2 separate regions of the Homo sapiens genome follow, and region 1 is linked to region 2. Evidence: promoter capture Hi-C in 16 types of primary human blood cells and fetal thymus (Javierre and others, 2016). All regions are on one chromosome and are shown on one strand. Each heading gives the region's core, a stretch centred on a gene start or on the middle of the fragment in contact. The rest is flanking DNA. Distances are from core to core; before and after follow the strand shown.

Region 1 (6,804 bases), core at 248-2,747, 980 kb after region 2:
ATAAGGCAATGTGAAAAAATGACAGCACTTTAATTATTTTTCCTTCCAGGTTTACCTTGTGTGTCATACTCTAAACAAGATGTAATTGGCTTGTAGAAAATAACAAATACGCATTTTAGATACTTTTTTTGTTTCAGAGTCACAAAGTCCATAAATCATTCCTCAACTGTCCTAAAGACAAAAGATACGCAGAGGATTCAAGTCAAGAAATGTTGATGTCCTACTGGGTGTTAATTCTACCTCTTAATCAAGATCTGATTATCAAAAAGGACAACAGAACATTAAAATGCTATAAAGATTTGAAATGTTTCAGTCTTCTCCAGAATTCACACTGTAAATGTCCTCATTATGACATTCACCAGAGCAACAAATTTGAGATGTTGCTGCAAAAATTCTGTAGAGCAGAATCTTTGCAAATTATGATGAATAATCCAAGTCCATATACTTGCTCTATAAAGCTCTGTAATATCAAGGTACTCCAACTCTGCTTCTGCTTCCTCAAAAACATACTATTTTAAAGAACAGTAAAAGGTAATTAAAAATAGTTTATAGGTTAATCATACTTGGTCTTATATTTGTCTAATGCAGACACTGGTGTGCTGGTGTTATAGCTGTTAGACATTATCATGAGCCAAAAAAATGAATCAGATATTTAATGGAAATTTTCTTATAAAATTACAAAAATGCAAGCCAATAATACTAAACTATAATAAAATTCTGAGCAGTGATACTACGGTGTTTTTTTTTCCCTGAAGGAGTAGGTATTCTATAAAAGAATGCTTAAATACTATGGTCATTCTGTTATAAATAAATATATTTCATAGACTGTTCTACATAGCTGATAGATGAATTTGCTCTGTTTCATCATTTCTGTACATTAACGGCATGGAGCAAGAAGCGAAACTCTAGTTATCACTAACCAGTTCTGTCTATATCAAAATTTAAAATTCCTTACAGCAGAAAAGTCAGAAGCTTAAAAGCCTAAATAGTTAACAGCAGTAGTTTCCGTTCTACGTAGCACTATGGTGCTTTACAGATTATTTCTCTTTAAAAGTAAGGCTTTGTCTTTGGTTAAAATGGAAAGTCCCTGGAAAGGCTGAGTAATATGCCTTATCAATTATGTGAGTCAAGGTGTAATGAGTTTAGCAGCTCCTTACCTGAGAGCAGGCTTCAATGATGCTAGCAGGGTACTGGAGTGCCCTATGACTACACTGAACTTCTTAGGGCCGAGAGAAAGGACCATGGTGGAGCAAGGGGGTCTTCACAAAAGGTTGAGTAAGAGTAACCAAGTTGCTTTGATAAGATTTACCTCAGATTAATAAAAGGGAGAACAGAATCACAGAGCCTTCAGAGGCTACTTCAGCTCAGGGAGTTAGCAGGTATATATAAGGAACTAGAAATAGAAAACCTTTGTTTCTATTTGTTTCCCAAAGTTACTAACATAAGCATGCTCATTTTTTGTTTTCCCTCAAAGCCTAGTAGTTCTATACCCTTATATTTAGGAACAGCAAAAAGGGGTGATACCTGCGAGACTTCCTACCACTTGAGCCGGTCTTGGGGAGAGCTTATCTCCAAGCAGAGCCTATCACCTGGCATGTGTGTCCGTGTGTCTGTGTGTCTGTATCTCTCTGTGTCTGTGTGTACTGAAGGAAGCAGGAACACAGTACAGGGAAGCTACTTGGCCTGGAGCTTCCACACACAAAGGGCCTCAAATTTACACTTTGGAAGTTGTCTCCAAGAAAGAATATGCACATAATCACATATAATCACATACGCTGACCAGTGGAAAGAAAAAGACAATCACCATTTGATTTTAATCCCATGTCCCACGATCCAACCACATAGCCTGTGTAAGATCTACATTAATATTTTTAATAAATCCTTTAATTATCCCATGAATAATAACAATGCATATGTTAAAAGTGCTAAATTGCTAAATAATTCTTATAATCTTATTCTGAAATTCATTTATCCATTAATATACCAGGAGCTTTCAAAAAATGGAAGTAGCTTATGTCCATCCCAAGCTTTGAGAGGCTCTGATACTGAGAAATTGGATGGATAATGGCCACTGCTAAGAAGAGAGGAAAATAAACTTAACTCCTTTGGGCCTGCAGTTATGGAAAAAGGGGAACAAAGAACTGCCCTGGTATGAGAAGGGACCTGGGAATCTTCAGTAGAAAGCTCCTTATGAGGTTCACTGGCATTATTGTTTAGCCACTACATCACAAATCTACTTCTGTTTAATTATTCTAATATTTTTAATGCAACTTTTTTTATTTGCTATGTCCACATAATCCAGAACATCAATATAGACTATAGTCTTGATCTCAAATCAGCTAGGCACTGAGAGTTATAACAAAAACTATTAGGTCCCTTCTTGAAGGAGCCTACCGATAGCTTGATCATTACAGGTAAGAAGATAACTAGCAATACAAGGCAATGATTAACTCATAAGCACCGTGCTGGTGGCCTAGTCAACAAGAACTATGGATGGGAGTTCATTCAGAAGAAAACTTCTGATCAGAGAGAAAGCTGCGGGTGAGACAGAATTTCATCTAAGTTGGGCCTCTTCACTTTTGACTGTGCGTGTGTGTTTTCCTCTAGACCGGATATTCTTGTGCATTTTTGTAGAAAGCCAAAAGGAAGAAAATGAAGACAAAAACGGTGAAGATGCTGGAGAAAGACAGGATGATTGAATATCCAGGAGGGTGAGAATAGGTGGCAAGGTAAGCCTTTCCTTGGAGTTGAAGGAATGGAGGCAAGGTATAGAGAAAAACAGATGTTTAGGGTAGGAGAACAGAGGGGCTGAGGCAATTCATCAGGTAAATGGGAAACATGCATTCAATGGAAAGATTCAGGAAAGAGTTTGTAACATGAAAAGGGAGAAAAATTCAAGAAATTGTTAAGATAAATATGTGAATAGATTAAGAAGAGGTGAATAAAAGAGGTACTTAGCAGCAGTGCGGAGCTACCCAATTGCCTGTAAAAACTTTCACAGGATTGAATGGCTGTAACTCCAGCAGTGTCCCTGGCATCACTTTTCCTGAGCTGGAACCTGGAGTCTCGTTTGATTCATGGATGGTGAATAATGTGGCCAATGCTGTGAAAGCAAAGAGGTTGATCTTTGAATTCTTTTTCTTATTGGCCTGCTACCTGGTTCCTATCCTTTTAGGGTGGAGACAGGGGCTTGCTAAAGAAAGACTCTCTACATCAGCCTCCCCTTATCTCAGGCTTTGCAGAAGATGTGTTGATGTTAGTCTGCCCTTGCGGTAGATATTTTTTAAGTGGCTTATGGCTATAACCATCTCTTCCACCAGTTAAAATACAGTTTCTATTTTTACTTTTATTATGTCCATACAGATTACAAAGTAAAGCTGTTTCCTAAATTCAGAATTGGTGACAAAGGAGTTATATTTAAACCTATCACTCAGCAAAAACACCTATTGGTTTTACCTAAAGAGCTTAGTAGTATAATAATGACTTAGGGGCCGGGCAAAGTGGCTCACACCTGTAATCCCAGCACTTTGGGAGTCCAAGGCGAGTGGATCACCTGAGGTCATGAGTTCGAGACCAGCCTGGCTAACATGGTGAAACCCTGTTTCTACTAAAAATACAAAAAATTAACCAGGCTTGGTGGCACGTGCCTGTGATCCCAGCTACTTTGGAAGGCTGAGGCAGGAGAATCGCTTGAACCCAGAAGGCAGAGGTTGCAGTGAGCCAAGATCACACCATTGCACTCCAGCCTGGGCAACAAGAGCAAAACTCAGTCTCAAAAAAAAATATATATAGTGACTTAGGATTGAGATTCCTAATATCCTTTCATGTGCAAACTCTGATTCTTAACTAAGATTCAATTAACAGGAAAGAAGATGTAACATAAAATTAAAACTCTATAATGGACTTGCATTGCTTTAATCTCCATACTTAATTGACACTAAATAGTTTACTTGCAGAAGAGAGATTCTGAGTACTATGTTTACACAGTACACTGATTATGATGCATAGAATTTTTTTGTAATAAAAAGGAACAGATTAATCCATTCTGTGTGACCGTAGCAGCCTACTGTGAACCACCCATTTATATCACTTTGTCGTGACCTTTGCTTCAGAAGCCTGACTGGCAAAGTAGTGCAATGGGTGCCCCTTTCTATAGTTAAGAAAAACTGCCAGTTACATACAAAGATATATTTTCCTGTCAGTTGATTCAAATGCAAAAAAAATACAGTCACCCAGATGACTACAGATGCCAAGTCACAAATTTGATTAAATTCTGAATGAAGCGAAGCATCATTCAGGCATAAACAATGCACAGCCAAGACCAGTCCTACCTCCTCTGTCAATAAGTATCGAACTCTCACTGGAAATTTTACCTGGAGCACTTACTAGACTCGCCAAGCAGAGGGTGATGTGATTTATATTTTTAGCCCTGACTAATGCCACAATTACTTGAAATATAGTATGCTTCCACACAGCTATATTTTTCTAACTAGTATTTTCCTTTAACAAAGATAAGATATAGTTCATATCATGTTACTCACTTTAATGTCATAAAGTTAGGCTTAGAATAAATTAGTTCTACAAATGGAATTTTAAGTAAGAGTAAAAGCATTGTAGGAAAAAAGAAGCACAGCAAGGTTCCTGAACCCATGGAACAAAATTTAATAAAGGCTAGTGTACATAACAGCAGGCAGGACAAACATAATAGCATGGATCAGGGAGGCCCAGACACAGCCAAAATGGACCGGCAGACATGAACCACCAAGAGAACCTGGGGCCTGCCTTGCAGCCACAGAGCTGAGGGATCTTGAGCAGAAGGAACAAGGTGGAGTCACCCAGATGCATCTTCCCCATGTATAAGTGGGAGGGAAAACCACTTTAAATCTTCCTTTGAACTTTTGCTTTATCCCAACTCCACATTCTCAGCTTTAGGAATTTTAATGATGACATTTCACATTGCAACCGAGCATACACACACACATATGTATAGAGCTGGTATATTCTAGTGTTTTCTATTCTGTTATATCCTATTTCATCCTTTTAAAATTCTGGTTAAGTCACATGCTATGTGTTAAATTGTGTCCCCACCCAAATCTTACAGGTTGAAGTCCTAACACCCTATACATTAGAAGGCAGCTTTATTTGGTGATTGTCTTTTTTCAGAAGTAATCAAGTTAAAATGAGGTCATTAGGGTGAGCCCTAATCCAGTATGACTGGTATCCTTATAAATAGGTGAAACTTGAACACAGTGGTGTGCAAGAAGGATAATGCTGTGAAGAGACATAGGACAAGACAGCCATCTGCAAGCCAAGGAGATAAGTCTAGAATGGATCTTTCCCTCACAGCCCTCAGAAGGAAGCAACCTTGCAGACACCTTGATTTCAGACTTCTAACCTCCCAAACTGTGAGAGACAATACATGTCTGTTGTTTAAGCCACCCAGTTTGTGACTAGCAAACTAAGACCTAACAAACTAATATAGAACACTAAACTGATTTCATGACTCATTAATGGGCCTTGAAGAGCAGTTTGGGAAAAATGAATCCAGTCCCACTGGGCTCTCCAACATCCTTTGTTCTTTGAGCATGTGCTTGAATACTTGCAGTGACAGAGAACTTACTACCTCCCAAGGCAGGGGATTTCATCTCTGGGGATCTCCAGTACAGCTAAAATCTGATGCCTGTAACTTTGTCCCACTTCTCAATTTCCACCCCTAGGAGTCATATACAGAAGTCCAACTCCTCCTCATCATCATCATGACTTTCAACCTGGCATTTTGTATTCTAGTGCTACCATATGTGTCCTCACTGTCTACCATAAGTGCTCTGCTGTCTTCCCATTGTTTTCCATTCATCCCTTGAACAGGTACAAACCCATTTCTTCACCCTCATGCTGACCTCTCCTCCAAAGTGAGATCACCTGCCCCTCCTGCCAGCTAAATCCCAGCCCACCCTCACTCCTCACCTTCAAAAATCTTTTTTTTTTCTTTTGAGACAGAGTCTTGCTCTGTCGCCCAGGCTGTTGGAGTACAATGGCGCAATCTCAGCTCACTGCAACCTCCACCACCAGGTCCAAATAATTCTTCTGCCTCAGCCTCCTGAGTATCTGGGATTACAGGTGTGCTCTACAACACCTGGCTAATTTTGGTATTTTTAGTAGAGATGGGGTTTCACCAGGTCAGCCAGGCTGGTCTTGAACTCCTGACCTTAGGTGATCCACCCGCCTCAGCCTCCCAAAGTGTTGGGATTACAGGCATGAGCCACCGCACCTGGCCCACAAATCATTTTCTGATCCTGCCAACACAGATCAATGTCTTCCTTTGTGAACATCTAAAGCACTGTGCTAAATAATAATTTAAAACTGGTTCATAGGTTCATATTTATTATCATTTAGGAAAACTGACTTTTGACAATATCTACTGAATTTTTCATTTCATATGGGGAGCTTGATGAAGCAGCAGCTTCAAGTGGTAAATCCTTGGTTGACATGTCTGAGTTAGTATCTTTGTAACTACCTTCTAACCTTTTTCTTTTATTCAAACCAGATTTTTCCCAAAGTATTTTTCTGACCTACCTTCTCTGACCAGAGGTAAGTAAAAGCTCTGAATCAACAACTGGGGAAATAATTATGGACTCTTGCAAATCTGAAAGTGGCCTGCTGAAAGAATTTTGTAGACCCCTAACGCCTCTCTTCCCATCTGTTCTTTCCCCTCCCCTCTCTTTATCCTTATTCTAGCCACTATCTGGCATGATCCTGCTACTTTTATGGTTTTAACCACCAATGATATTCTGATGATGCTCTCAT
Region 2 (7,633 bases), core at 3,028-5,527:
AAACTCCTTTAAATTTAATTTGGCTGAAGTTTTTCTTTTACAGAAGTTGCTGCTGGCTTTAAACAAGGGTGTGTCAAGAAGTGAAATTCTGTGCAGGTGGAAAAGGGGTAGAATAACAGGCAGAAAGGTATGATGAATGCTGTAGCTTCTGATATCAAGCAATGAGTTCACAGTGGGAAAATTCATCTAATACACAAACCAAGGCAGGATATAATGAAAGCTCAAGAAATGTGTGAAATAAAACCAGAGAAAAGAAAGATTTTATAAAGATACTGGAGATAAGCAATGCAACTTGTCTGTTGAATAAAGTACTTCAAAAGTCTGCTTCACCCCCAGACTTCTGAGTTCTACCATACCTTTTAAATTGAACGAATAGTCTTTGTTTGGCTTCAGCTATGACGTATTATTTGCCATAGGCTTCTATTCATGACAATATTGACAACTGCTCAAAGTTTTTTAGCCTAAATTCTGTTCACATTGGCCACAATTGCTGTAAAAGCAGAGGCTTGAAGAAGACTTGAATAACACAATGAGTTAACAGGTAAGGGCAGCTGTTTGGAATCAATTATTTTTGCTTTGATATCCATACACTTAGCTGGACCTCAATGGGTTTTTTTTTTGCTTTTTATACAGGGTCTTCTTCTGTTGCCCAGGCTGGAGTGCAGTAGGGTACATGTCGTCAGGACCTCCTGAGGCTGTCATGAAAAAAAAAAAAAATATATATATATATATATATGTATACACACACACACATACACGTAGCCTATAATCCTAGCACTTTGGGAGGCCGAGGCAGGTGATCTCCCCGCTATGGATATGACCTTATTTGGAAAAAGGGTCTTTGCAGATTAAGGCAAGAAAAAGATGGAGAGTTTTTGCCCTTGCACCAGGCTGCCTGCTGATCTCTGCATAGAGCTTTGCATATATACAGTATGTATATATATACAGTATACTATATGTATATACACACTTATATATACACTATATATGTGTATATATACATACATACTATACATACAGTATATATACAATGTATGTATATATACTGTATGTATATACTGTATATATAGTATACGTGTGTACATATAATATATATAATATGTGTGTATTATATATGTATATATGTATATGTGTATATATACACACACTCCTGTATATATATATACATACACACCTGTACATACATATATATGTAGAGATCAGCTGTTTGTGTGTATATATATATACACACATATATATACATATGTGTATATATATGCATATATATACACATATATACACATATGTATGTATATATATGTGTACATATACACACAGGTGTGTAAGTGTATATATATACAGGTGTGTATATATATTCATAGTTACGGGTGTTAGGACTTGGACATATCTTTTGGGGAGGCATGTATATATATACATGCCTGGATTAATAGGTAAAAAAACAGGATTATGGATAAATTCATTACTAAGCATTGACTATCAACTACCATTTAATACATACTCTCCAATCCCAATAACAACCTCTGCAGGTAGGTGTTATTATCCTCATTTTACAGAGATGGTAATTATAACGGGTTGAATTGCACCTTCCCCAAAAGGTATGTCCAAGTCCTAACACCCCTAACTATGGATATGACCTTATTTGGAAAAAGGGTCTTTGCAGATTAAGTTTAATTCAGGGAAGAATCTCAAGATTAGATCATCCTGGATGAGGGTGGGCCCTAAATCCAGAATAATGTGTCTTTGTAAAAGAAAAGATGGGAAGAAGAGACAGGAAGGTCATGTGAAGACTGAGGCAGAGATGTGTGTGCTGCCACAAACCAAAGAATGCTGGGATCCACCAGAAGCTGGAAGATTCTCCTCTACAGTTTTTGGAGGGAGTGTGACCTTACAGACAGACACCTTGATTTCACACTTCTGGTCTCCAGAACTGAGAGAATCAATTTCTGTTGTGTTAAGTCCTTAAATTTGTGGTGATTTGTGAAGGCATCCCTAGGAAACAAATACAGTAAGTAAAGGGGGTCTTGACTTCAGGGACGGAGAAAGTAGGTTCCTACCTAGGTTTAAGTCTCAAGGAATGGAGGAGGGAGGAGAGGTGAGGAGAGTGAAAGAGAGACAAGGAGAGCGGCAAGTCGGGACCAACTTTCCCCGACTTGAGACAGGGTCAGGATCACCCTACATTTCTTCTCTTCCCTCACCCTCCTCCATCACTGCAAAGATGAGCCTTTGTTACCCTGGGGAGCCTGTGTTGGCTCTCCTGCCTTTTAGGCAAGAAAAAGATGAAGAGTTTTTGCCCTTGCACCAGGCTGCCTGCTGATCTCTGCATAGAGCTTTGTCATTTACCATGCAGTTTCATGCTCACAATCACTTTCAACCCTGAGAAGAACCCATCTTCCTGATGAGAAAGGTGAAGCACAGAAGCACTTGCTCAAACTTATATGTGTTCGTGCTGCTCTCAATCGAAGACTCCAAATTCCATTTTATTACCATTGCACCATACAGCTGTGGACGAATAATTCTTCCGTAACAGTTAAAACAAAACCAAACCAAAACCATTTTGTGGAGTTTGTTCATGAGCACCAAAAATCACTGGAGAGTGTGTGCACTCAGCACACGCAAAGTTGTGTGTATTATCTCCCTTGTGGGGTAAACTTTGGTACAAGGATTTAGCCTTCCTTAGTTATCTTGGTTTGAGGAAATAAAAGGAAAATAAGAGTTTTGCCTGAACATATGGTGTTAAATATGCCAATATAATATTTGAAGTTTTGCACTCAATATATATAGTGTTTGAAAGCAAGGACTTTGGGCAGCTTTCGGTAGTTGCGTTTTCCGTGTTTTTCTAAACTAGCCAACCTTACAGAGGTTTAATTTTGAGAAACCAAGCTCCTAACACTTCTTCATTCATAACCCTTTTTTTTTTTTTTTAGACTGAGTCTCACTCTGTCTCCCAGGCTGCAGTGCAGTGGCACGATCTCGGCTCACTGCAACCTCCTCCTCCCGGGTTCAAGTGATTCTCCTGCCTCAGCCTCCTGAGTAGCTGGGACTACAGGCGTGCGACACCACGCGGGGCTAATTTTTTTGTATTTTTAGTAGAGACGGGGGTTTCGCCATGTTGGCCAGGCTGGTGTTGAACTCCTAACCTCAGATGATCTGCCCGCCTCGCCTCCCAGAGTGCTGGGATTACAGGCGTGAGCCACCGCGCCCGGTCCATAACCTGGTTTTAATCATCAAGTTATAATTTTTTCCGTTCTTAGTGTGGGAGGGGGCTTGTGACAGCTACCTGGCAGTAAGTACTTAAGGCAGACATCTACATTCTTTACAGAGGGGCTTGTCACTTCGTTGGCTCCCCACTTCCTCCACACCCTGGGCAGGGACCATTTTCTCTGCAATATTTGCTATCAGCGCTGTTTCAATTCAGTTTGCTGGCCCTCTCAGTTTTTTTCCAGCTTGAAACAACACCTGAAAAGTACCTGTAAGAGATTTTGGTCGAATTCAGCGGCAATCTGGAAAATCCCTTCTCAAAATCCCTTCTGCTCATTCTTAAAAATAGTTCTGGTCTCTAAGAGAACAGCAATGTAGTAAATAACATACAGGGTTTTGCCCTTCGTTGCTCTGATAAGGGCTGGCGCGGTAGAAGCGCGGAGCCTGAACACCCAGGAGACACCTGTCAGCTTGGTGAATGAAGGCTTGCGCCGGCCTGGCATTTCTGCTACGCCTAAGCGCGGATAGTATTGGCTGAATGGTAGGGGAAGGTGTGGTTGGAATCTTCCCCCAGAAAGGGAGTGACAGATACTTAGCCGCAGGGTTTCTGTGCCAGGGAGATGGCGGCTCAGTGGGCTAGGCAACGCGTGGAGAGAGCTTCCTACTCTCGGGATAAGCAAGATTGAGCCCCACAGCTGTAGGCCATGTGGGGAAGGAGGTGTGGAAGCCAGAAGCGGCGTACACGGCTGCGTGGTGCGCTCTGCGTTTTCCTGTCCTTGGAAGCCCTTTCCAAGAGTTCGTTTTACACCCACACAAACAAGACCTCAAGCGTCCCAGATACGTCAGCAGTTCATTCTGCGGGTGAAGAAAATATTGACATTTTTCAGATGAAAACTCTCCTCCTGAAAGGACCTTTGCTGAGTGCTGGGGGAGGCGGGGCGCGGGGAAGAACGGAGACCGCCCAGGAGGCTGCGGCACTCCTGGGCTAAGTACTGCCAGGGAGCTCCCCCGTTGGGTGACGGAGGAGGTGGGGCGAGGGCAGCGCGCAGAAATAGGGCGCTGGGCGCCCGAGCGCAGCCAGCTTCCAGCACAGCCCGCGGCCCGGTGCCAGCTCCGCCGGCGACCGGTGTGCCAAAGTGCGGTGCTCCCGCAGGGAACCTGGCTCGGGGAGGGCCTCCGTGAGTCATCTGCTGAGTTGTCGCAATCGCCACCCAGAGGAAATCAGGCACCGGGCGGGGCGGGTTCCTGGCTGCGCTCGCGCGCTCTGCCCGCGCCGCGGTGTGCCTCCGCTTACCCGCAGCTCCGACCACTGGCTCGCGCTACCCAGGTCTCCGCACGCCGCGGTGGCTTCAGCCCAGACCTGGGCAGCCAGCGGAGAAAGAGTTAACTGGCAGGGGCGAGGAGGAGCCCAGGGAGGAAGGAAGGATATTGCCGTAATTCTGAAAGTTTTTTTCCTTCCTCTCTTCCCTTCGCAGAGGTGAGTGCCGGGCTCGGCGCTCTGCTCCTGGAGCTCCCGCGGGACTGCCTGGGGACAGGGACTGCTGTGGCGCTCGGCCCTCCACTGCGGACCTCTCCTGAGTGGGTGCGCCGAGTCATGGAGGGCGCAGAGCTGGCCGGGAAGATCCTTTCCACCTGGCTGACGCTGGTTCTCGGCTTCATCCTTTTACCTTCGGTCTTCGGAGTGTCTCTGGGCATCTCCGAGATCTACATGAAGATCCTAGTGAAAACTTTAGAGGTGAGTGCCGGGAGGGATGCAGCCAGCCCCACACCGCTGCGGGCTGAGAACCCGGGGGTCCAGTTCTCAAGGTCAGTGGTCGCGAGTCAGGGGTGTGTGTGCGCGCGTGTGCATGCGTGCGTGCATTTCTGTTCCTTGCCCGCAGCAGTGCGAAAGTCAGCATCTCGGCTTCTTTCGCGGAGCTGGAGGGATCTAGGCTGGAACCACTGGACCACTCTGTTGTTTCTCTGGTCGAAGGCGAAAAAATCATTCCACTCCCTGAGCATCGTTATTATTTTACTGATTAGAATAACAACAATGCGACCAACTTTTTGTATCAGAGGATTTGCTTATATCCATTATGCAGTGCAGTTTCCGCTTCACCCGCTTGTTTTTACAGCCCCAGGTTTCAGAGGTCCTTTTGTGTACTAAGGCATCCAGTTCAGAAAGGCATCATGTTCTTCTTTATGCCCAAGATAAGAGACCAATTGCTGGATGGCAGAAAGAAATCTTATTTTATTTTAGTGGAGTCATGGAAATTTTATCTAACCAACAGCACTTGAAATGCCATTGAAAAGGTATATATTCTTTGACCTCAGGTCTCCCTACCCTCCTGTTTCCAAATCCTGCAAAGAAAAATGTTAGATGGAAGTAGGCCTGGTAGAGAACAACTGCAGCTTACTCTTAGGGTTTTATTAAGTGTCAAAAGGCTGGGTAGGGTAGGGAGGGCAAGTGCCAACCCCCTTTTACAGAGAGGGAAACTGAGAGTCAGAGATCAGTGGTTTCTTTGAATTAAGTGTTAGAAGCAGGAGTCTTTTTTTAAAAAAAAATTTAATTATATGTATAATATGTGTGTGTGTGTGTGTGTGTGTGTGTGTGTGTGTATATTTAACATAAGAGACAGGGTCTTGCTATCTTGGCTAGGCTGGTCTTGAACTCCTGGCCTCAAGCAATCTTCCTGCCGTCACCTCCCAAAGTGCTGGGATTAAAGGTGTGAGCCCCACGCCTGGCCAGAAACAGGCATCTCAACTGAGAAGAGGCCCTGCAGCCTAGTGGTTAGGATTAGGGACCCTGGATACAGGTTTGCTTAGATTTGGTACCAAAATTGTAGCTCTGTTTCTCAAAATGTGACCTTAGGGAGGTCATCTACTCTTGTGCCTCATTTTCTGTATCTATAAAATAGGAGTAACAATAACTCCTATTTCCATAGGGTTGTTCAAATGAGTTAAAAGGTATCAAGCACCTTAGAAGGCTGCCTGCACCTACTGTATGAATGCTTGTTGCTATTAAAAGAATAATATGATTACTGAGATTCTGGCATTCCACAGTGCCTTCTAATAAGTTTGGTTCCCATTTTTGTGACCTGTTTTCTCTCTGCCCTTAGGACGTGGCTTTATCTGCTCTTCTTTCTCAGCTAATTGGGTGGCTCCCAGGTATACATCTCTAACCCACTGGACATTGTCTTGTACTTGCTAGCCTCCTGTATTGCCCTAGACTCTTGTTTGTGGCTATTTCTTTGCCTAGACTTTGAAGTTGTATGTGATTCTTCATCCTCAGTGCTCATGTTTTTAAAGTTCTACTGTTTCTACTTGGGAGCTATTTCTCAGTTTTGAACTCTTCTTATTGACTTTACATTCTGAGCTTGGTCACATTATGCTGTGAATTTCTTGACTGCTTCCTAATGTGAGATCTTCAGAATCCTCTCCCATAGCAGATGATCCTCTTCAGCTGGTGTTCCCTCTTTCTCTGAACTCTGAAATGATTGAACTGCTCTCTCATACAGCAATGTCTTTTGGAATTTATACCCTGTGTAAGAATGGTGTAAAGGTAAATCACACCCACTGGCTTCCAGGGGCTCACTTCTGTCTGTTTTTCTTTAGTAACTCAAGGTCAGCTAAGGACGGAGGCCAGCTAGTTGCTGTCAGCCTGGCAAATTATTATACCTGATAGGATGATCTCCAGTCCAGGATCTGACTTTCAGTTTGACAGGCCAGAGATTTTAATTTTTGTCCTTCTGGATAACTCCAGAGCTGAACTCCTTGTCAATCAAACTGACAAGAATGCCAGTTTTCTAATTCTGGTGGGAGAAACCAGATAACTTGGAAACCAGGTAGGTGACACATCAGGAACCCACCCTGTCTGCTGAGACTAAGTTATTAGGTCAAAGAGATGCTTGATATATGTGGAATTTGAATACAGATTCATTGTGTGAGCCAGCTCTGATTTGTTGGTTGCGGCTGCCTGGAACTCCTATGTTTGGGAGCATCTGAGCTCATCAGGAAAGAGAGCTGTGATCCCATAGTGATTTCTGCTTTAGGTGCAGGAGAACAGTAACCCAGGATCCTCTATCCTTCAACTAGAACAGTGTTAGATGTTTCAAAGACATTTCTGTTAGACTGGGGTTAATACGGTGGATTGCTTTTCTCAACTATAGGAATAATTCCTTAAGGGATTATGCTGATGTTTAGCATTAGAACATCTTCAGTGCTGGCCAAATACCCTGCCTTTCTGTAGATTGCATTCAAGGCCTAGCCCTTGTATCACTCCTTGGTAAATTCTTAATTGATTTAGTTGTATTTTTCTTTACATTTCATTCCCAAGAATATTCTTTGGGCTCTGATCATAATTGGATATTTCTCAAGTTTCTTTGCTTATAATTTATGTACCATTTAAAAAGATCATTTAGTTTTGTCTATTATATGTTTACTTTGACAAGTTTTA

The links. Contacts are between HindIII fragments. The CHiCAGO score rates a contact against its expected background, and 5 or more counts as called.
Region 1: a fragment that was not itself captured here is called in contact with the fragment with the promoter of GPAT3 in region 2 in 1 of 17 cell types (M2 macrophages); the score reaches 6.0 in M2 macrophages.

What each region holds. Positions count from the first base shown.
Region 1 is chr4:84,510,764-84,517,567 of GRCh38, forward strand. No RefSeq gene overlaps it. Among named protein-coding and RNA genes, the nearest start is that of NKX6-1, 15 kb to the left of the region's middle. The HindIII fragment of the contact is 1,055 bases long and covers 971-2,025 here.
Region 2 is chr4:83,531,831-83,539,463 of GRCh38, forward strand. It overlaps GPAT3 (glycerol-3-phosphate acyltransferase 3), which reads left to right and starts at 4,278. Exons shown (of 12, transcript NM_032717.5): 1 at 4,278-4,933. The coding sequence starts at 4,793. The HindIII fragment of the contact is 15,854 bases long and covers 1-7,633 here.